7 separate regions of the Homo sapiens genome follow, and regions 2, 3, 4, 5, 6 and 7 are each linked to region 1. Evidence: promoter capture Hi-C in 16 types of primary human blood cells and fetal thymus (Javierre and others, 2016). All regions are on one chromosome and are shown on one strand. Each heading gives the region's core, a stretch centred on a gene start or on the middle of the fragment in contact. The rest is flanking DNA. Distances are from core to core; before and after follow the strand shown.

Region 1 (3,086 bases), core at 182-2,681:
AGTTCTGGAAGTAAAAGAGTTAACTCTGAGATGATTAAGACTTCTAAAATCCCCAACAGAAGCAACTCACCTCAAACAGAGTCACATCTCTGTAAGAAGGAAAACTTTCAACCACCAGGTGCATTAACTTCTGCGCACTATTCTCACTTTCTCGGACGCAGTTGAGAAAAGAGCCTCCAAACTTCTCCAGCAGAATTTTCCCGGTTTCATTGAGAATCCGATGCCTCTCTTCTACTAAAGGCATGGAAACGTCTGTGTCAGAACGAAGTATATTCCGAACCTGATCCAGGGTCACTGTCGCGTAGTACGAGGCACTAGTTATTGGTATCCCTTTAGTGAAAAAATAAAATTCAGAGGACCAATGTCATACTTCCATATGCATTAAACCCTTGCTTTTACAACATGGAATTAATATGAAACCAAATGAGTGGTATAGGAATGCACCAAAAGTGGAAGAATAAAAAATCTAAAGCAAAACTCATTTTCTACTTGTTCATCTGTACTTATTCACCCATTTCTAACTATTGCAATATTACATCAGATGTATTCTGAGTAAATTGCTTTATAACATCGGTCCTTTTGTTCTTCAGGTGTCATTCAAATGGCATTCTTTATAAAACTGACTTTTATGCTACTGTAACTTTTATGCTGCAATGATAAATATTAACATCATTTTCCACTAAAATATGCCCCTTTTCATACTTCTATTTTAAGCATAAGGACTTGCAACGAACTTCAGGTTCGCTTTCCATTATTCCATCTCCCAACCCGCTCCTTGGAACTCCCCTACACACACCCCAAGTAAATGGAAACCTCAAAGGCCGTTAGGTCCGATGGCAAGTATGGCACCAACCTTCGTCGAGGGCTCTGTTGACGGCGGCGCACAGGGACCAGTACCCACTGTATGTTTTCCCTCTGTACCTCACCACACACTTGTGCTCGTCCTGCTCCGACCAAAAGGAGAAGTTGAGCGTGTCTGTCACGAACACCCAGTTGACCGCGGCCTCGTCGGCCGCCCTGGGGTTCAGCTCATGAAGGGCTTTCCACCCCTCCACGCGCAGCTCTGGCCCCGCCGCCTTGGCCAGCAGCAGCTCTGCCACCCTCCGTACGCCTCCGCTGTCAATAAACACATCCCGACTGTTTTCTGCAATGAATTTAGAGGATTCCCTGGGATTTAGGAGCCCGTCCATTCTGCCCTTTGGGACCCGGCGGGCCAAACTCTTCCCGCCCTAGGCGGGTCAAGGTCCACTCTGCGCCTTGCGCTACTACGAACCGCGCGATCACAGGGCCTAAACAAGGTCCCGCCCTGCCAGGGAGTGGCACCGAGAACTTAGTGCAGCCAAGGTAAAGGTTCTCTCCCGCGGCGTTGCCCTGATTAGGAAACCAGAGAGACCCCGGGGCAGCTCGCTGGGCAGAGGCCGCAAGCACTTCCGGGAAAGCGGTCCCGTTCACGCCCTCTCGGGCGCGCTCTCAGGCTCCGCTTCCGGTTCCAAAGGTCTGGAAACTGCTAAGGGTCCGGCGTTCACCGGCCGTGAGTTGCCCACCCTGGGAGGTGCATGGCTTTGCCATGTTTTGCCTTTTCTCACCCCGCTTCGGACAGGTGGGACTCGAAGACGGCGACTCGCCGCCTTGCCCTGGGTCGCGATGCCCCCACCCCGCTCCCACCCCTCTCCTTTCCCGCAGCCTGAGCAAGACGCCTTCGGCAACGCCCCGCATCCGGGCTCCTTGGCCTCGAAGAGCATTATGGCCGTAGATCTGGGTGCTGAGGACTGAGCCACCCCCAGACTGCGACATGGGCGGCGGTGCCTCCTTCCCCAAGCCCCAGGGAGTGTTTTTTTGTTTGTTTTGTTTTTTGTTTTTGTTTAAGTGAATTCCTGGCCCATTTGGCCGAACGAACGTTAGGATTAGTTGGAAGGTTTGGAGAAATGGATGAGGAAACAAATGTGTTAAATTGTTAAATTAACCTTGTGTGCCTGGCAGTGTACTTAAGTACTAAATCTCACCTAGGCTGGGTCATGACGAAAGCGGCTATTGTGATCCCGCTTTTGCAAGTGAAGCTGAGTGGTTCATTGATTAACCCCCATCACAGCAATGGTTTGGGCTAGGATTTAAACCTTTGATAATTGAGCCCCCTAAATCGAGGGCACTTTATGAGCCAATCACCAGTGCCAACCATTCTGGTCAGTCAAATAGTGACTATATCAGTGGCCCTACTGAGAAGACATTAAAAATGAGGAAATAAGTGTCTCACAACTGCAAACTTACACAAGTACCTTATATTAGGAGAGAGGTGTAGAAGCCAATTTAGTGATGATCCAAATTTGACTGGTGATGAAGTTTTAGTATAAAGGTATGCATTTTTTTTCCTTTTGGAGACTTAAATCTCCATGGATAACGTTCACATCTTTGAAAATCACCTATTAAAAATAATCATCAGTACCCATCTCTAGTTACCGACAGGAAAATCTTGGTATTTTTGGAGGATTCGGAGCTTTTAAATTTGTTTGTTTGAGACAGAATCTCACCCTGTCGCCCAGGCTGGAGTGCAGTGGCATGATCTCAGCTCACTGCAACCTCCACCTCCCCGGTTCAAGTGATTCTCCCTGCCTCAGCTTCCCAAGTAGCTGGGATTATAGGTGTCAGCCACCACACCTGACTAATTTTTGTATTTTTAGTAGAGATGGGGTTTCCCTATGTGGGCCAGGCTGGTCTCAAACTCCTGACCTCAGGTAATCCACCCTCCTCGGCCTCCCAAATGGAGCTTTTTTTTTGAGACGGAGTCTCACTCTGTCATCCAGGCTGGAATGCAGTGGCACAGTCTCGGCTCACTGCAACCTCCGCCTCCTGGGTTCAAGCAATTCTCCTGGCTTAGCCTCCCGAGTAGCTGGGATTATAGGTGCCCGCCACCACGCCCGGCTAAGTTTTGTATTTTTAGTAGGGACAGGTTTTCACCATGTTGGCCAGGCTGATCTCGAACTCCTGACCTCAGGTGATCCGCCTGTCTTGGCCTCCCAAAATGCTGGGATTACAGGCATGAGCCACCACACCTGGCCCCAAATGGAGCTTTTAAATTTGACAGCTGTTAC
Region 2 (3,147 bases), core at 551-3,050, 250 kb after region 1:
AACCATAGAGAATCGATCTGCTATCCAGCTGTTTCTCTCTTTTGTTGTAACTCCCTTAAATTAACTCCAAACTCCAACCCCCCATAAGACCCCTTTTAAACCTTACGGCTTGGTTTCTGCATTCAATGATGGGAAGTCAGAGGAGTCCATTTTGGGGAGCAGAATGGTACAGCAGAAAACAGCAGCTGGAAAGAGGAAGATCCAGGGACCCCCCGGGAGCCACCACCGGCAGCCAGAGCCTCCCCAGTAGCTGAGGCTGCAGTGAGCCATGAAAACAGCATCCTGACAAGCGAAATGATTCCTTGGGATTCCCAGAAATGCTGGTGAAGAGGAAGCTGGTAGAAGAACTGGACTTCCTCAGGCCGAGTCAGTGGGAACCCGAGGCACCATCACTTTTTAATCACAAAGAAATGTGACTTTATTATGACACTTAAAACTAATGAAGCCTGGACATCTGGGCTGTATAATGTAAGGAACTGAGGCTTGGTTACTGTGTGGTTCATTGCTGCTCATTATGCTGTCAGACGAATGGGAATGAGGCCACACTCGGCTTGAAAATTGCCAGTAAACTCTGATGGAGAGGAACATTCTGCTTTCATTCTGTAAAATTAGAGACACAATGTAACACTCGCCGTCTAATTAGCTACAAAACATTGACATCAGTGTTCATGCTCTGCATATCAATACATGTTGCTCCGTTTGTGCATTTACACCATCTTCCTGATTACCAAATACCTTAGCAAATGGGACAGCAGATGTTTCCTCTCACAACTTCAACGTGGCATCTGCTCAAATCATTTGTCTCCTCCATCCCATTCAATTGCTAAGCCCCTATATTTTTCCTGACATCTGGGGGCTGGCTCTTTGCCTGTTCAACTAAGTTGGGTAACATTGAGTGCTTTCCTGCACTAAGTTGGTATTTAAGGGGAAGAGCTGAAAAATCACGTCTGCAGGCTTTCTAATCTGGTAAATGTTAATTTTACCCATACCTACCTCGGAATGATTTTCTCTGGGTCATGGAAATCTTTTATTTTTTATTTACTTATTTCTATTTGCTAGTTTAATAATGAACAGATATTATTGATATAATAACAATTTTTAAAAATGTAAGACTGATCATTCAGGAAATTTTAGTCAGATGCTACTTTCTAAGTCTTCCATTTCATTATTTTTTGTTTGTTTTTATTTGATACATAATACTTGTACATGTTTATGGTATACAGGGTGATGTTTCAATACATGTATACACTATGCAATGATCCAATCATGGTATTTAGTATATCCGTCACCTCAAACATTTATCATTTCTTTGTGGTGAGAGCATTCAGAATCCTCTCTTCTAGTTACTTTGAATCCATTAGGAATTCCATTCATAACAAGGTGGAGAGAGATGGGTGGATGGTATGGTAGTTTATCTCCAAGATGAATACTGTTAAGTTCTTTCTTTCCCTACAAGCCATTCTTCACTGAGAGGTGGAACTTATTCCACCACCTTAATGAATCTAGGCTGGCCCGTGACTTGCTCTTGACCAATAGAATATGGTGGAACTGACATAGTTTAACCTCCAAATCATAAGAAGCCTTGCAGCTTCTGTTGGGTCTCCTGGAATATTCCCTCTTGGGGAAATGCACGGACCACCTACTACCAGTCCAACTACTTTGAGACCACCATACTGCATAGGAAACCCAGCCTAGCCATGTGGAGAGGATGCTTGAGGATAGATGCTCAAGCAGCCCCCAGCTTTTCCAGCCTATACATGAGACATGAGAGTGGAGAAACCTTCTGATATGGTTTGGATATTTGCCTCCTCAAAATCTCATGTTGAAATGTGATCCCAATGTTGAATGTGGGAGATGTTGGGTCATGGGGGTGGATCCCTCATGAATGGCTATGAATATTATATATAATATATAATTATGTAATATATATAATATATATTATATACTCTATTTTATATATACTATATATAAATACTCCAATCTATTTTTTATACATATAAAAATATATATATATAAAATATATATATATACAATAGATTGGAGAAATCAAGGTAGGCTTCAAGTTCACAAGGGGCTGTTAGTGTAATGTTGTTTGAAGAAATACTGAAAGCTACCCAAAAGCATCTCCTTCTACCAGCCTGAAGTCCCCATTAATCCTTTTTCATCTCAACTTACCTAGGAAGAGCAGTACATAAATCTCCTGGGAACCTGGCAAGGCCTGGACTAGTCTGTCTGGGAGATCAGCTTGCTGAACCCTAAAGGGGAGTCCTGAAAGAGTGGATCAGAGACAGCTTTTTGAGGTCACTAAGAAAGGTCCAGGCACATGTGAAATGCCAATGTGAAGGAATCTGGGTAGCATGAGGCTGGGGCCTAGGACAACTCTGAAGACAAACTTCTCTCCCCTCCTAATTCTGCACAGAACTAGTCTTACATGAAGCTATTGTCAATTATTTTGGGTGCATCTTCTATATCCTAAGCACAATGGTCAGTACTTTACATAGATTATGATCTCTTTAACCCTCCCATGACCCTATATGTCAGACAGTTTTGACAGTGAAAGGGACACTGTTAATAATTATTCTTTTAATTATTCTAATCATTATAAAAATATTCTATATGCCAGGACCGTCCTAGGCCCACCTGGGCATATGATCACCCCTACCTGTGAACAAGTGTAGTTCCTTCCCTGATAGTACACCTGAGTAAACTGAGGCTTAGGATGTGAAGCCACTTGCTGAAGGTCACACAGCTGGTAAGTGGTGGAGGAGGATTTGATCCAAATAGTCTGGCTCCTGAGTCTATACTCTCTGCCACTACAGCTAACTATTGACATAGCTATTGTTTAATGCAAAAGTCAGTCTGGCAAGCTGAATTTGGCTCATAGATTCTGTTTTGGTTGACATTCATTATTTTTTTAGAAATTGAGCTTAGGCCAGGTGTGGTGGCTTATGCCTGTAAACCCAGCACTTTGAGAGGCTGAGACGGGTGGATCACGAGGTCAGGAGATTGAGACCATGCTGGCCAATATGGTGAAACCCCGTCTCTACTAAAAATACAAAAATTAGCTGGGCGTAGTCCCAGCTACTCAGGAGGCTGAGGCAGGAGAATCGCTTGAACCCAGGAGGCAGAGGTTGCAGTGAGCAGATA
Region 3 (3,382 bases), core at 406-2,905, 160 kb after region 1:
CTTCCTTTAGCATTTCTTTCAGGACAAGTCTGTTGTTGATGAAATCCCTCAGCTTTTGTTTGTCTGGGAAGATCTTCATATCTCCTTCATGTTTGAAGGATAATTTTGCTGAATATACTATTCTAGGATAAATGTTTTTTCCCTTCAGCACTTTAAATATGTCATGCCACTATCTCTCGGCCTGTAAGGTTTCCACAGAGAAGGCTGCTGCCAGACATATTCGAGCTCCTTTGTAGGTTATTTGTTTCTTTTCTCTTGCCGTGTTTAGGATCCTTCTTTATCTTTGACATTTGGAAGTATTAAATGTCTTGAGGCAGTCTTATTTGGATTAAACCTACTTGGTGTTCTATCACCTCCTTATACTTGAATATCCATATCTGTCTCTAGGTTTAGGAAGTTCTCTGTTATTATCTCTTTCAATAAACCTTCTACCCAGATCTCTCTCTCTACCTCCTCCTCAAGGAGGCTATTGAGGCTATTTTTTTTAGATCTTGTAGGCATGCTTTATTCTTTTTTTTCTTTTGTCTCCTCTGACTGTGTATTTTCAAATAGCCTGTCTTCAAGCTCACTAATTCTTCTGCTTGATCAATTCTGCTGTTTAGAGACTCTGATGCGTTTTTCAGTATGTCAATTGCATTTTTCAACTCCAGAATTTCTGCTTGATTGTTTTATTTTAATCTCTTTGTTAAGTTTATCTGATAGAATTCTGACTACCCTTCTCTGTGTTATCTTAGATTTAATTGAGCTTCCTCAAAACAGCTATTTTGAATTTTCTATCTGAAAGGTATCAGATCTCTGTCTTGCTGGTGCCTTATTTAGTTCATTTGGTAAGGTCATGGTTTCCTCGATGGTCTTGATGCTTGAGAATATTTGTTGGTGTCTGGGCATTGATGAGTTACGTACTTATTGTAAATTTTGCAGTCTGGGCTTGTTTGCACCCGTTCTTTTTTGGGAAAGCTTTCCAGATATTTAAGAGAATGTGTAGGTTGTGATCTAAATCTTTGGTCACTGCAGCCATATTTGTTTAACAGGGCACTCCAAGCCCAGTAATGCTGTGGTTCTTGCAGGCTTGTAGAGATACCACCTTGGTGGTCTTGGTTAAGATCTAGGAGAATTCTTTTGATTACGAGGCAGAGACTCTTATTCTCTCCTCTTATTTTCCCCCAAACAAATGGAGTCTCTCTCTGCTGAGCTATTCTCTCTGTGTGAATATTGGCTTTACAATTGGCTTTACATACTGAATATACATTCAGTAGAAATAGTGCTTCACATTTTGATTTTTGATCTTTTCTTGGACTAGTAATATGTAGTATGATACTATCTTGTGATGGCAGGGAGTGACAATGAGCCACAGCCCCCAGCCAGACACATGATCACCACTGTAAATCACCAACAATCTACAGTATTCTGTGTTTCCAGATGATTTTGCTCAACTGTAGGCTAATGTAAGTGTTCTGAGCATGTTTGACATAGGCTAGGCTAAGCTATGGTGTTCGGTAGGTTGAGTATATCAAGTACATTTTTGACTTACAATATTTTCAATTTACTTATGCTGGGTAAAACACCATCATAAGTACGGTAGCGTTTATGTGGATTTAACGAAGCAGCCTAAAGAAATCTATAGAACTCATCACAAATATCTCTAAGTAATTAACTCAATTGTGGACAAAAAAGTAGATATGTAAATTATTTTTTACCCATAACTTGGTAAAGTTTTCAAGCCTGGAATGTTAGATGTGTCTCAGCCCACTTTTCTCTTCTTGTCTGGGCTGATTTTCTTCCTAAGCATTTCATGTCCTCTGTGTTCTGCAAGCCCAGCTGTCTGCTCTCTCTCTTTTTTTTTTTTTTTTTTTTTTGAGATGGAGTGTCACTCTCTCACCCAGGCTGGAGTGCAGTGACACAATCTTGGCTCACTGCAACCTCCGCCTCCCAGGTTCAAATGATTCTTCTACCTCAGCCTCCTGAGTAGCTGGGATTACAGGCACGTGCCACCACACCCGGCTAATTTTTGTATTTTTAGTAGAGACGGGGTTTCACCATATTGGCCAGGCTGGTCTTGAACTCCTGACCTCAGGTGATCCGTCCACCTCGGCCTCCCAAAGTGCTGGGATTATAGGCGTGAGCCACCGCACCTGGCCCTGTCCTCTCTTTTTTAATTTCTCTGTGCTGTTACCCAGTTTGCAAGGGTATCCTTTTCAAGTAAGTCATGTCAAGTTACTTCTGTTTCTTCTAGAACTTGCTGCTCTTGCTCTCATGTCTTAGGAGCTCACTTTATTTTCTCCTTGGTTTTTCTTATGGCTTGTTCAACTCAGTCTGGCTGTACCCAGCACAGAGGCACATAACAGGCTGTTAATAAAGCTTGGTGATTAAATGCATTGAATAAATGCATGAACACTCTTACTTCAGGCTGCAGTCTTTCTCCTTGGTCTACACTGGGTCTTTCTCTGGTTTATTTATCTTTTCAATTGAAGTCAGGTTACTAGACTGTTTAAACAACAATAAAGATACTGTTGATAAAATTTGTCAAGAAATGCAAGATATTAGAATTTTATAGATAACAGCATATATCCCATTTTTATATTACAGCAGGTTTAACCTTTGTATGAGTTTTTTTTTGTTTTTCAAACATTTGTCATTTGTGAGGCCTGTTGCTCAAAATACAAACACAGTTCAATTCCACAGGGTGTCAGGTGGGTTCATATTTGTCAGAAGAAAGTACACACCCACAAGCATTTTAACTTTTAAAGTAAATGCCCAACTTAACCAGCAAAGAATTATACATTTTATTGGAAGTGAGGTCATTATGTTGGGTGAGATCAGATGCAGTTTATCTCCGCACAGCTTCCTGTGAGCTCCAACATTCCTAATGGGATAGGTCTATTAAGGAACATGCTGGGAGGCAGGGATATGGTTCCTGTGAGTTAGGGTCTTAACAAGCTCAAAAAGTTCCATTCTTGTTTTGCCACTTCCTTTTTATTCTCAGAAACTATACTCTTAACTTATGGGCTTCTTCTTTCATGAAATTTACAAACATTAGGTTCTCCTAATTCTTTTTTTTTTTTTTGAGAGAAGTTTCGCTCTTGTTGCCCAGGGTGGAGTGCAATGGTGCAATCTCAGCTCACTGCAACCTCTGCCTCCCGGGTTCAAGTGATTCTCCTGCCTTAGCCTCCCAAGTAGCTGGGATTACAGGTACCCACCACCACACCCAGTTAATTTTTGTATTTAGTAGAGACGGGGTTTCACCATGTTGGTCAGGCTGGCCTCAAACTCCTGACCTCAGGTGATCCACCCACTTCAGCCTACCAAAGTGCTGGGATTACAGGAGTGAGCCACTGCACCCGGCCAGGTTCTCCTAACTCTTAATCCAAATGCAGAATCTAGA
Region 4 (3,465 bases), core at 467-2,966, 230 kb before region 1:
AATGGGAGCCAGGTCTCTTACTGTCTGAGAAGGGAATTACAAATATGGTAAGCGAGAAAACTAGAATGAAATTACAATACTGGATTAGAATCAGTTGAACTCATGGTTTTCAGTATAGATATAATTATAGATGGAAATGTATCTATGAATGTATGTATTCTTTTTCTTAAAATAATTTCAACTTTTATTTTAGATTCAGGGGTACACGTGCAGGTTTGTTACATGGGTATATTACATGATGCTACAGAAGGATTCTTGTATTGACTGAGCCTAGCAGGGCCTGGCAACCTCCAACATAGTTCTCACTTTAAAATCTGGTGGAGAAAAAAGCAACTACCGGGAGGGAGGTGGGGGGGTCAGCCCCCCGCCCGGCCAGCCGCCCCGTCCGGGAGGTGAGGGGCGCCTCTGCCCGGCCGCCTCTACTGGGAGGTGAGGAGCCCCTCTGCCCGGCCACCACCCCGTCTGGGAGGTGTACCCAACAGCTCATTGAGAACGGGCCATGATGACAATGGCGGTTTTGTGGAATAGAAAAGGGGGAAAGGTGGGGAAAAGATTGAGAAATCGGATGGTTGCCGTGTCTGTGTAGAAGGAGGTAGACACGGGAGACTTTTCATTTTGTTCTGTACTAAGAAAAATTCCTCTGCCTTGGGATCCTGTTGATCTGTGACCTTACCCCCAACCCTGTGCTCTCTGAAACATGTGCTGTGTCCACTCAGGGTTAAATGGATTAAGGGCGGTGCAAGATATGCTTTGTTAAACAGATGCTTGAAGGCAGCATGCTCGTTAAGAGTCATCACCACTCCCTAATCTCAAGTACCCAGGGACACAAACACTGCGGAAGGCCGCAGGGTCCTCTGCCTAGGAAAACCAGAGACCTCTGTTCACTTGTTTATCTGCTGACCTTCCCTCCACTATTGTCCTATGACCCTGCCAAATCCCCCTCTGCGAGAAACACCCAAGAATGATCAATTAAAAAAAAAAAAAAATTAAAAAAAAAAAAGCTAAAAACAAAACAAAACAAAAAAAAACCACTTTGCAACACAGCTTTCTGTTTGCTTAGCAATTACTACAGAGCACACTGCTTTTCATGAAAGGAATTGGTCAGAACTGTTTATAAGAATTACCACAAATGTTTATATATTTATATTATAAAGAATTAGTTGACAATTTCATAAAATTTCTCTTCAACAATTTAAAAAAAAAAAGAAAAAAGCAACTAAAATTTTTCAGCACAAATATTGTTTTTTCAACCTCAAAAGAGGCTGTTTCCCCTATGAAACTGTGAATTTAAAAAAATCAGTACAAAAATACATCTAAGTGAACAGTGTAATTAGAATGTTATTCTAAATATAGGCTGAATTTGATAATTAAATGAAAACTTTACAGGCAGGCTGGACTGGGCTTAGACCTATTTTTGTAGGAGTTTAGACTCTGTAAAATATCTTACACAACAACTAGCCATTTTTTTTTTAGAAGGCTGTATCTTAAAATTCACTGCTAAGCAAGCCAGTACAATGCAAGGGAGGAAGGGAGAGAGGAAAGAAGAGGAAAAAGGAAGAGAAAGAGGAGGAGGAGCAGGAGAGAGAGTATGCTTTCAAAAGGAGTAGCTTTTCTGCAAAGTAGAAGCCAAATCTCTTAGGTTCAGTGTACTAAACACACACGTTCAGCCATTGTGAAAAGCAATTTGGCGATTTCTCAAGGAACTCAAAGCAGAATTACCTCTCAACCCAGCGATTCCATTATTGGGCATATACCCAAAGGAAAATAAATCATTCTACCATAAAGACACATGCATGTGTATGTTCATCACAGCATCACAGCACTATTCACAACAACAAAGACATGGAATCAACCAAAATGCCCATCAACGGTGGACTGGATAAAGAAAATGTTGTACACAAACACCATAGAATACTGTGCAGCCAAAAAAAGAACAAGATCACATCATTTATAGCTACATAGATGGAGCCAGAGGCCAGTATCCTAGTGAACTAACACGGGAACAGAAAAGCAAATACCACATGTTCTCACTTACAAGTGAGAGCTAAACTTTTGAGTACATACGGACACAAAGAATGGAATAACAGACACCAATGCCTACTTGAAGGTGGAGGGAGGGAGAAGGGTGAAGATCAAACAACTACCTATCAGTTACTATGCTTATTACCCGGGTGGAGAAATAATCTGTACACTAAACCCCCGTGATATGCAATTTACATATATAACAAACCTGTACATGTACCCCTGACCCTAAAATAAAAGTTAAAAAAAAGAATAAAAGAAATAGATCACAAGGCACAAAAGTAAAAGTGGGTGAGGCTGGGTGAAGTGGCTTACATCTGTAATCCCAGTACTTCAGGAGGCCAAGGCTGTAATCCCAGTACTTCAGGAGGCCAGTACTCCTTGAGCCCAGGAGTTTGAGACCAGCCTGATCAACAAAACAAGACCGCCACCTCTACAAAAAAGAAGAAGAAACAAGGAGGAGAAAAAGGAGAAAGAGGAGGAGAAGGGGAAGAAAAAGGAAGAGGAGGAAGAAAACATAGCCTTTATTGAAATGCAGAAGTTATTTTTGTCTTGTTTGGTGTTGGACCATTAAATCTATTTTACCACTTCATACACTGCCTCTATCCCAACATGCTCCAAAAGATAAGTGCAAATCTTTATGAATTATATGACCAGTATTGTAAGTCTAAGTCTTAGAATGAAGAGACTGAGGCAAAGGACAACTAAATTGCTATCATCGGGTAAATGGTCAACACAGCCAAAACATAGTCTGGGTTTTCTGGATTTCCATCCCATTTTCCTTCATTAGACATTAACTCACTAAAGGCCACTGCATCTCACAAGCATGTAGTATCTACATCTCACTTTAGAAGGGCTATTATAAAGTTTTCCATTTGATGGAAAAGCTGGATAAATAATACTTCTGTATCCCTGATTAATACAAGAGCAATAAAACTGTAAACGTCTTTAATTATTTATTTATTTATTTATTTATTTTGAGACAGAGTCTCGCTCTATCGTCCAGGCTGGAGTGCAGTGGCGCAATCTCGGCTCACTGCAAGCTCTGCCTCCCGGGTTCACGCCATTCTCCTGCCTCAGCCTCCCGAGTAGCTGGGACTACAGGCGCCCGCCACCATGCCCGGCTAATTTTTTGTATTTTTAGTAGAGACGGGGTTTCATTGTGTTAGCCAGGATGGTCTCGATCTCCTGACCTCGTGATCTGTCCGCCTCTGCCTCCCAAAGTGCTGGGATTACAGGCGTGAGCCACCGCGCCCATGTAAAGGCCTTTATTAAATAGCTTCAGGGAGCTGGGACAAAGAGAAAAAAACTTTACATCAAATACTAAACACAGTCACCCCAAATTTCATGATATTCCAAATAGAGAAACTGCCTCCATGTTTTCACCTCCAAAGAACAGAGGACAGTTTTATTTTCTCCTAAATGGAGCAGTTGGAAGTAGAA
Region 5 (3,189 bases), core at 171-2,670, 200 kb after region 1:
GACATTAGAACAGGAAGAAGAAGAAGTGATGGAAAACCTAAAGAAAGAAACTGAAGAACAAATCAATACCATTATAGACCTGACACTTACATCTGATGTATCAGGGAATAGAACAGACACGGCAATAAACTGAATTACCGACAGAGAAAGGGCCTGAAATAATCACAATGCTTGCAGAGGAAAACAAGAGTGAAACATTTAAGAGAAATTAGATACATATTGAAGGCAGACAAAGATAATCAAACATTTAAGAATAATTGGTGGACTTAGAGGACACAGCCCAACAAATGAAGTGTGCAGACTCTTCAAAGACATAAGAGGAAGAAAGTTTCCTGAACAAGGTTCAAAGAAAAATGGCTACAGAGTGGCTGACACTGAACTATGTCTTAGTTAAGTTGTCTGCTTCAAGGATGGAGAATAAATTGCTCATGGATCCAGGTAGAAAATGCAAGTCATTTACAAGGAAGAGAAAAATCAGGCCAGAGATGTTTCCACAGCAACACTGCATTCCAGAAAAAAATCTGTTGTAATGTCTAAGAAAGAATTGTGAACCCCCAAAATGTTATACTGAGGCAAGTTATCATTCAAGTGTAATGGCCAAAGATTTTTTCAGAGACAGAAGAACTGAATTCTACTTGAAAAAGTATGTGACGATGAAATCTAGCCATGGAAGATGTAAATATGGGAACCCAGCAAAAGAACAGCCATAGCGAAGGGCCTGGTGAACTTGGAATCCATTTAATCACAGAATGACATTAAACAAATATGGGAATTATGGTTATAAAGATGGATGTAAATGTTATAATCTTGATCATAGAGAAATAGTCTGAAAAAAATGAGAAATGGGAAGTGTAAGAGTAATCACTTTTTTCAACACTCATTGCTGAGGCAATTGATATTTTCTATGGGATTCACTTTTATTTAAAAAAAAATGAAGCGTCTGATGTTTTGGGTCTTTTTGTATTTTTTCTCTTTAAGCTTTTAGTAAATAATTTTCCTGTGGCTAAAAAAATCCCCTTCAGTTTTAATTTAATTTTTTCTGATTAACTGAAGAAAATTTTAAGTTAATATTTTAAATAAATAGCATCTAGGCTGGGTGTGGTGGCTCACACTTGTAATCTCAGCACGTTGGGAGACTGAGGTGGGTGAATCGTTTGAGGCCAGGAGTTCAAGACCAGCCTGGAAAACATGGTGAAACCCCGTCTCTACTAAAAATACAAAAATTAGCCGGGTGTGGTGGCATGTGCTTGTATTCCCAGCTTCTTGGGAGGCTGAGGCACAAGAATCACTTGAACCCACCAGGTGAAGGTTGCAGTGAGCCTCGAGATCATGCCACTGTACTTCAGCCTGGGTGGTAGTGTGAGACTCTGTCTCCAAAAATAAATAAATAAAATAAATAAATAAATAAATGGCATTTCTATTATGACTTCATTTGTGTGAAATTATGTCCATTTAGGCATTCATACATTCTTCTACTAATACACAAACACACACACACACACACACACACAGAATAATACTCACCAAATGTTAGTTTTTTCTGAATGGTAAGTTTTTTTGTTGACTTTTTAAAAACTCATCTTACTTGAATTTATTACAATGAGCAGATTTCTTTATTATCAAACACTTAAGACATTAAAAACATTATGGAGAATAATTTGATGAATTCCTGTGTATCCACTACCCAACTTAAGGAAACACATGCATTACAAAAAAAACCTTTGGAGTTTATTATTTTTGTATGTGTGTATGTCTTTTTTTTATGGAGTAACTTTTCTTCTGAAATAAGTTTCTTCTCAATTTCCTTCCTTTTGTAAAGAGTCTTAGAGTTAGATTAACAGAATAAAGGTAATAAGAAATGAAAAAGCTTTATTCTCTGCTAGTGGGAGGATTAGAATAAAAAGGAGAAAACTCCTGTATTCTGACAGCAGCAGAGGAAAACCTTTGGAATGGGTTCTTTTGGTTGATCCTAAATTCAGATGCTTGTCCTCACTGATTGTAAATGATCCAGGGTTAGAGTTTATGGTCAAGTGAAAGAACACAGGACATATCTGAAACATTAAGTCTTCATGGCTAACATGGCATTTCCAAAGTAAAAGGCTCAGTTAATTTCTCTTTCTTTCTTGGCCCTCTTCCTTATGGCAGCAAAGAGGGCTATAGGACAAGATATGGTGCTGTTTGTCATTCTCTGGCATTTACTGAAAAGTTGGCCATCCTAGACTTGGGACGCCTTTCTGTGTTCTGAATATCATGTACACAATTCCAGGTCTGGACTTGAAATTTGTTGGTGAGCTTTTGGTTACCTGTTCAGTTCACCTGTTTGTTTCTGGAGCACCCTCTGAGTAGATAATCCTATTACCATTTCTTTTAGCAAATTGAGAGACATGAGTTCAAGTAGATATATAAATAGTAGCTCTCCTCTCATGAACTCACCCAAACATCTATTTGTTTGTTCACTCAGCAAATATTTACAATCCAGAATGGAAAGTGAAGACCTGGAAAAAGCATGTTTCATTTAATCAAGACGTGAGAATTAGAATCTCATTTTAAAAAATTATCATCCTCTGAAAGGACTGGACTTTTTTTTATATCATTTAAAAAATTTCATCCAACAAACACTTTACCAGTTCTCACTGATATTCTGGAGGTGAGGTACCCTACTGATTTCTCTGTCTAGATTCAACCAGAAGTGGAATCCTTGTGTCTGGGCAGTTTCCTTGTATAACCTCAGATTACAGTTGTGCCCTTGCCTGGCGGTAGTGTCATACAAAGGGGCATAGCTGTGGGAGCACTTTGCCTCAGGTACAGACAATGAGCAGGCACATGGTTTATGAAGAACTTAAAAGCAATACAAAATCAACTAAAATTTGGTCTGCTTTTTATTATTACCATATGCTGGCAATTATAAACAATGTCAAAGATAACATACTCCTACATACACAAACACACACAATTTGTTGCACTAAGTTCTAAACAATTGCAGCAGTTAATGTTGAATGAGGGAGCCATACGCTTATCCATTGTGGGGCAGATATATTTACAACTTTAACTACTTTTGAGTAAAAGCATTTGTATAGGAAAATGCCCATTTTTGGTGGGAAAGCTTGTTGCCCACGCTTAACCACAGAAAATAGATTTCTATTCAATTCTATTAAAAGGTAGGCTGAGGAGTCCTTTACAGAGATTCAT
Region 6 (3,145 bases), core at 384-2,883, 140 kb after region 1:
TTCATTTAAAAATACTGTTTTGGGGCCCAGCGTGGTGGCTCATGCTTGTAATCTCAGCACTTTGGGAGGCTGAGGTGGGCAGATCACCTGAGGTCAGAAGTTTGAGACCAGCCTGGCCAACATGGTGAAATGCTGTCTCTACTAAAAAATATAAAAATTAGCTGGGTGTGGTAGCGTGTTGCCTGTAATTTCAGCTACTTGGGAGGCTGAGCCAGCAGGATCGCTTGAACCTGGGAGGCAGAGGTTGCAGTGACCCGAGATGGTGCCACTGCACTCCGTCTCAAAGGAAAAAAAAAATACTGTTTTGGTCTTCTCCCCACCCTTAAAGTGGAAGCACCCTGTAAACATGCATCCTTCATTAAGCAAACATGTTTTTTTTTTAAATATCTTTTCTTTATAAATTACCCAGGCTTAGGTATTTCTTTATTGCAATGCAAGAACAGACTAACACATAAAGTAATAATTTCACCTAATGTGATGAAACTAACACGAAGCAACTATCCTGCATACAACTGAAAATGCAGTAATCCCTTCCCCAGAATTTGGCTTTCAGGATTTCAATCTTTATATTTAGGGTCTTGTTTTTTGGGATTATGATAGGCACCAGGTTTCATAAGTACAGTCTCAATACACTTGAATGAGATGAGGCAAATGAATTTGACCTAAAGGGAATTATTTAGCCTGAAAGGAACCATTGCAGCTGGGTGTGATGGCTCACACCTGTAATCCTAGCACTTTGGGAGGCCAAAGTCGGAGGATCACTTGAGTTCAGGAGTTAGAGACCAGCCTGGGCAATATGGCGAAACCCTGTCTCCACAAAAAGTACAAAGACTAGCTGGATGTGGTGGCACAGGCCTGTAGTCCCACTACTCTGGAGGCTGAGGTGGGAGGGTCACCTGAACCTGGGAGGCCAACGTTGCAGTGAGCTGAAATTGTACCACTGCACTCCAGATGGACAAGAGAGTAAAACCCTATCTAAAAACAAACAAACAAACAAAAACAACAGCACACAAAAAACCATTTACTGCCACATTGCTGAGGGGTAAATTTGACTTCTCCCAGTGGGAAGTGTCAACCTTTTTCCCTTCATGTACTACCAGACCGCTCCATTCCTTATTTTGGGGAAAAAAAAAAAAAAAAAAAAAGATTAACAGTGGATTTTACTTTCTACACCTTTGATTATTATTTTACCTATAATATAATATGTACTCTGTAGCATGTTATAACATTCCTACTACTCTGTTTTTATTTAGAAACAAGCATTTTTTAAGGTTTTAACTTTTACCAGGCTTACCCTAATGATGCATTCAGCAAACCTTATGGGCCATCTACTCCATTCCAAGTACTTGCAGTAGGAAGGATGGTGAACATACCACAGAAAAGACACATCCCTGGGAGTTTCTGTATTTCAGTTTGATAATAATTTACCTGAGGAAACTCTGGCTGAGACTCACATGTCTTAGGAGATTCGTAAAAAATAAAAGTACAGAATTTTTTTTCTTCTTTGATATGAATTTCAATATGGATTTTATTTAAAGAGGCTTTCCTGTTTCTTTTGGGAAGGGCATACAGCAATGGAGCCCCTGTGGTTTTCAGAAAACTTGCCTGCTTGCTGTTGAAAGTCTGACACAAAGTAAAAGAACTGTGCTGGGACTACTGGTGAACAGGGAGCTATTTGTGATAGAGAAAACATGGTATTTTTCCTCTGGTAAGATGTACATTTATTAGAGCATTTATCAAATAATTTGGCTTTTCAATACATTATCAGAAATTAGTGAGATTGGTTATGAACTTAATTATGCTTTTCTAAAAAATGTTTTTAGCCTGCTCTCAAACATTTTGAAGTGGACCCTTATTAGAGTTACCAAATTGTATGAAAGCACATTGCCCTCAGCACATAAGGGTCACAGGTGGAATGTAGCAGGGTTGAAATGAAGGATAATGGAAAAATCCACTACTTGTGTTTGCTACTTAAATGTCATGGCTGGGTAAATGGATTTCTCTACTTCCTAGGACTCGGCTTCTACTACATTAGTCTGGCAGCAATTAGAGAGAAGAGGTTGCTCTGCAAATTGGCTTGGCGAACCATGTAGTTCATCTTTTTATTGTGCAAAACAGAAAAAATTGCTTCTAATCAATCCACTTCAACTTTCAGTCTAAAAATTATTTACCATCCTATCAACTGAAAGTACTAGAGAAATGTTCTATTCGAATTAACTGAAGGGAAGAATCATTTGTATCAATCCTTGATTACGATTATGGGGGAAGCAATAAAGAGATTACATCATACTATGATGGAATATTGAAGGAATAAAGAGACTGCATCATTATTGAGGTGTCCTTGCCAAATTGATTAATGCTTTTAGGATAATTAATCTATATTTCAAATATAATTGAACTCATTAGCAAAATCAGAAATGTACAATTTAATGACTCTAATGCTCGAAAAGAGATAGATTTTCCGCTCAAAGAGAACATTATTAATTTTGAACTTTTCACAGTCTTTGCCTTTGATTCATATGGTTGATCAATCCCTCTGCTTTTTAACTGCCCTAGGATGTAACATTTGAGGTGCTTAGATAAAAGTTTATTATTCTTAATTTTCTCAGAACATAGATTAACAGAGAACTGATGTGATGTACAGGGAAATTTTACTAATTTCCACTTTGCTCATCAGCACAGTCAATGGCTTTAAAAAGTGAATGAATAAATCACACTTCTAGATGATTTAAGTATAATAATTAGTTTGAGACAGTGCAAATTACAAAAGTAGACTCCTTTAAGCTGTGCCTTAACACAGCTGGCTTCATTAGGAAAACAACTAGGACCAGCAGCCAGGTCCGCCCAGAGGAAGAGAAGAGAAAGGATGAGTAGAGGAGGGGTCTGGTGGCAAGTTCTAATGAGATTTAGGGTGTTACAGGCTAAGAAACACTGGCCTCATTTGAGGAAAAGAAACCTCACCCACAGCTTCAAACCAGGTAAATATTGTTCTGCTTCTCAGAAACCAAAGATTTCCTGGTGCAACAGGAGTCCAAATTTCTGAACAAAGAATCTTAGTAGAGATCAACAAAAAGTCTGTTGAAACCAACATTTTTTGATGAGTTCTAATTCTTCTCATTAGCTAAACCAAAATAATCTACATTAA
Region 7 (3,486 bases), core at 778-3,277, 250 kb before region 1:
ATCCTGACAGCCCACTATGACCCAAATCCGCAAAGATACATTCTGCCTTTCTGCTCCTAAGCCGTCCAACCCTGTTCTGAGAATAAATACTGTTACATAAACACGACTTTTTAGCAGAGCTCTATGGAATCTGGGTCTAAGAGAATCCTGAGGGTATCGATTTCAGTATAGACATCATTTGATATCACCTAAATTTCTGGCAGCATGGCTCAATAACAAGGCCTTCTGCTTAATGAAGGATGACTACTTGGTTATGTCCAGGTGTGAGATGATCACTGCTTCTAAAGCTAGAAAGTGCCACAACTGGACAACCAATCATTTGGAATTTCTTCCATATGTCTAAATAAAATTTCTCCTCAACTTCATTAGCTCCTCATTACCTGTTTTTCCCTGTCATGCTGTGTCTTACCTGCATGCTTTGCCTAGGCTGCCTTCCTCTACCTAGAATGACTTTCCCCTTGCCTTCACCTGTCTAACTTCTACTCATCCTGTATCACATGCCCCAGGAAGACTTCACTCCCTACCATTTAGAGATATGGTTTTTCCCTTGATTCTCCAACAAATACCGTGTGTGTGTGTGTGTGTGTGTGTGTGTGTGTGTCTGTCTCCCTGCATTTATGGACTTTGCAATTATCTGTGTCTACATTATTGTCTAAAAATGTTTGATGTGTGTGACACTATAAGGTAATAAGATTTACCTGTAAGAAGATACCATATAGTTATCCATTGTTATGGCACTTTTTAGATATAATCCTGACCTGCATGAGAATCGGAGGTGGGGGCACTATGGTGTAAATCAGAGATTAGTGAACTTTCTGGGAGGGCTAGATAGTAAATATTTGGTTGGTGCCAAAAAAAAAAATTTGCAAAAACCGCAATTATTTATGCATCAACCTAATATTTTAGGCTTTGTGAGCCACAGGATCTCGGTCTAAAACACTAAGCTATGCCCTTGTATCACAGAGTAATCATAGACAATACATACATGAATAATCATAGCTATGTTTACTAAAAACTCTACTTGCAAAACAAAAACAGACATAGGATCTGATTTGGCCTACAGAAGATAGTTTGCCAACCCCAGGTCTAGATGTTTATTTGTGGCATTTTCTTCTGAATGGTTTTTGTTTGTTAAATGGTCTGTCTGGAGAAAATTTTAAGAACATATTTTATCACAGTATCCTAATACTGTATAATACTATATTGAGCATACAAGAATAATAAGACTCAGTTTCTGCCGTCAAAAAACTTGAAGTGATAGTTGGATGATGGGGGTGAGGGATAGGAGGGAGACTGGCAGTGATGTCCTGGTAAATGACTAATAACCAGTCCTCCTGAAAATAAACTTTATTACATTTGCCAATTTCCTTGATGTAAATACTTGCAAATGGTTACCAACTTGAGATCCTCTGCCTCACAAAACACGTGAAATTTTACCAGTAAGCCCTCACAAGCCAGTATGAGCCAGCTCCAACTGAAGAAGTCCCATTTTGAGAAAATCCATTATTCAGAGTTCAAGTATATTGATAGAAGGTTATTATTCACGATAGAATAATTCTTTTTTGACAAAATGATTCAGTCAACTCAATAAGAATTCATTGAGTATCCTCTGACAAACTTTAATCCTCTAATCTTGTGTCCAGGAACATACCTTTAATACGAGGTAGTACATATGTCATGTAAGTGCTATAAATAACATGACTTCATCATGTTACTAGGCTACTGAAAAATCTATCATAAGTTTCCCACTGCCTAGAAAATAAAGCCAAAGCTTTTTATTTTTTTTGGAGACAGTTTTTTTCTGTCGCCCAGGCTGGAGGGTAATGGCATGATCTCGGCCTACTGCAACCTCCGCCTCCTGGGTTCAAGCGATTCTCCTGCCTCAGCCTCCTGAGTAGCTGGGATTACAGGCATGCACCACCACGCCCAGCTAATTTTTGTATTTTTAGTAGAAACAGAGTTTGACCATGTTGGCCAGGCTGGTCTCAAACTCCTGACCTCAGGTGATCCACCCACCTCAGCCTCCCAAAGTGCTGGGATTACAGGTGTGAGCCACTGCGCCCAGCCCAGAGCTTCCTAACTAGGCCTTCCACAGGTAACTCCTAGTGTTGACTCCTGTTGCTCTCAATATATATGCTCCATTCCAGTCAAATACCTTTATTATCATCCCTAGAAGCACTTATACATTATACTTTTCTTAACTTCTGATCATTCCTTCAAGTCATTACACCCACCTCCTTGTACCCATTATTGCTACCTGCTTTCTGAAACTCCTTGAATACCCAAGCTTACAGAATCTGACCTTCCGTCATAATTACCTGCACATTTCACTTGACCATTCATCACTTGTAGCACAGCTTCTATTATCTGAAACTTTCTCCTGCTACCAGTCTAGTTTACACCCTCATGAGCTCTGGCCTAGATTACAGCAATAACCTCCTACAGATTCCTCTGCCTCAATCTAAAGTCTCCATCCTCAACTCTTATTTTCCTGTGATGCCATATGTTATCCTAGAACGAAGCTTTGATTATGACACCTGCTTGAAAATTTCCAGTCACTGTCACCAAAGTGTTAAGAGTAATGTCTAAACTTTGTGGCATGGTGTCCAGGGTCTTCTGTAAACCAAAGACCTTGCTCTTCACTCATATCTTATCCTCAACCAAACTGGTCAGCTAAGCTCTCCAAGCATGTCTTGCACTTTCCAGCTTCAACTGCAAGTAGAAATTCTTCCCCCTTATTTTGACCCCATCATTTTACCCATCCCGCAAGACTCAAATGTGACATTCCCTAATAACCCTTTTTGGATCCGAAATAGTCTTTAAATCCTCTGTATTCCCATATAGCTTTATTACTTTTTGATGTCACTTACCACATTCTGTCTTGTATCATATGTCTGTGCATATCTCATTTATTAGATAAAGGCCTTGAAAACAGGGATCAAGTCTTAATCATCATTTATACCAGAGGTCCCCAACCCCTGGGCCATGGACCAGTACCAGTCTGTGGCCTGTTAGGAACTGGGCTACACAGCAGGAGGTGGTGAGTGACAGGCAAGCAAGCATTACTGCCTGAGCTCCACCTCCCATCAGATCAGCAGCAGCAGCGGCATTAGATTCTGTTAGGAGAGTGATCACTATTGTGAACTGGGCATGTGAGGGATCTAGGTTGTGTGCTCCTTAAGAGAATCTAATGCCTGATGATCTGAGATGGAAGAGTTTCATCCCAAAACCATCTCCCCCTGACCCCCAGTCCATGGAAAAATTGTCTTCCACAAAACCGGTCCCTGGTGCCAAAAAGGTTGGGGAACTGCTGGTCGGTACAAAAGTAATTGTGGTTTTTGCACTGTTGGAATTTGTCATTTGATATTGGAATACATTCTTAAATAAATGTGGTTATGTTATACATCATTTTAATGTGCATTTCTTTTTTTTTTTTTTTTGCTAATGACATTGCTGTTTGTTTTATATTTATTTTAGACTATGGAA

What was found. The method cuts DNA at HindIII sites, captures the fragments that hold promoters and counts their contacts. A CHiCAGO score of 5 or more calls a contact.
Region 2: a contact is called between a fragment that was not itself captured here and the fragment with the promoter of QNG1 in region 1, in 6 of 17 cell types (neutrophils, naive CD8 T cells, total CD4 T cells and 3 more). The highest score is 7.4, in neutrophils.
Region 3: a fragment that was not itself captured here is called in contact with the fragment with the promoter of QNG1 in region 1 in 1 of 17 cell types (total CD4 T cells); the score reaches 5.2 in total CD4 T cells.
Region 4: a fragment that was not itself captured here is called in contact with the fragment with the promoter of QNG1 in region 1 in 1 of 17 cell types (naive CD8 T cells); the score reaches 5.3 in naive CD8 T cells.
Region 5: a contact is called between a fragment that was not itself captured here and the fragment with the promoter of QNG1 in region 1, in 8 of 17 cell types (total CD4 T cells, total CD8 T cells, non-activated CD4 T cells and 5 more). The highest score is 10.2, in total CD4 T cells.
Region 6: a fragment that was not itself captured here is called in contact with the fragment with the promoter of QNG1 in region 1 in 3 of 17 cell types (neutrophils, naive CD8 T cells and total CD4 T cells); the score reaches 5.2 in neutrophils.
Region 7: a fragment that was not itself captured here is called in contact with the fragment with the promoter of QNG1 in region 1 in 1 of 17 cell types (non-activated CD4 T cells); the score reaches 5.9 in non-activated CD4 T cells.

The regions. Positions count from the first base shown.
Region 1 is chr9:83,955,311-83,958,396 of GRCh38, forward strand. QNG1 (Q-nucleotide N-glycosylase 1) reads right to left here and starts at 1,432. Exons shown (of 4, transcript NM_032307.5): 1 at 854-1,432; 2 at 71-330. The coding sequence starts at 1,190. The HindIII fragment of the contact is 8,080 bases long and covers 1-3,086 here.
Region 2 is chr9:84,207,081-84,210,227 of GRCh38, forward strand. No RefSeq gene overlaps it. Among named protein-coding and RNA genes, the nearest start is that of SLC28A3-AS1, 70 kb to the right of the region's middle. The HindIII fragment of the contact is 7,346 bases long and covers 1-3,147 here.
Region 3 is chr9:84,116,851-84,120,232 of GRCh38, forward strand. No RefSeq gene overlaps it. Among named protein-coding and RNA genes, the nearest start is that of RMI1, 140 kb to the left of the region's middle. The HindIII fragment of the contact is 1,401 bases long and covers 956-2,356 here.
Region 4 is chr9:83,728,407-83,731,871 of GRCh38, forward strand. The region is part of intron 1 of LOC124902191 (a long non-coding RNA gene); the gene reads right to left. Among named protein-coding and RNA genes, the nearest start is that of UBQLN1, 22 kb to the left of the region's middle. The HindIII fragment of the contact is 3,988 bases long and covers 1-3,465 here.
Region 5 is chr9:84,155,382-84,158,570 of GRCh38, forward strand. No RefSeq gene overlaps it. Among named protein-coding and RNA genes, the nearest start is that of SLC28A3-AS1, 120 kb to the right of the region's middle. The HindIII fragment of the contact is 889 bases long and covers 977-1,865 here.
Region 6 is chr9:84,096,843-84,099,987 of GRCh38, forward strand. No RefSeq gene overlaps it. Among named protein-coding and RNA genes, the nearest start is that of RMI1, 120 kb to the left of the region's middle. The HindIII fragment of the contact is 4,368 bases long and covers 1-3,145 here.
Region 7 is chr9:83,709,021-83,712,506 of GRCh38, forward strand. It overlaps UBQLN1-AS1 (UBQLN1 antisense RNA 1), which reads left to right. Exons shown (of 2, transcript NR_135839.1): 2 at 3,478-3,486. Among named protein-coding and RNA genes, the nearest start is that of UBQLN1, 2.8 kb to the left of the region's middle. The HindIII fragment of the contact is 516 bases long and covers 1,770-2,285 here.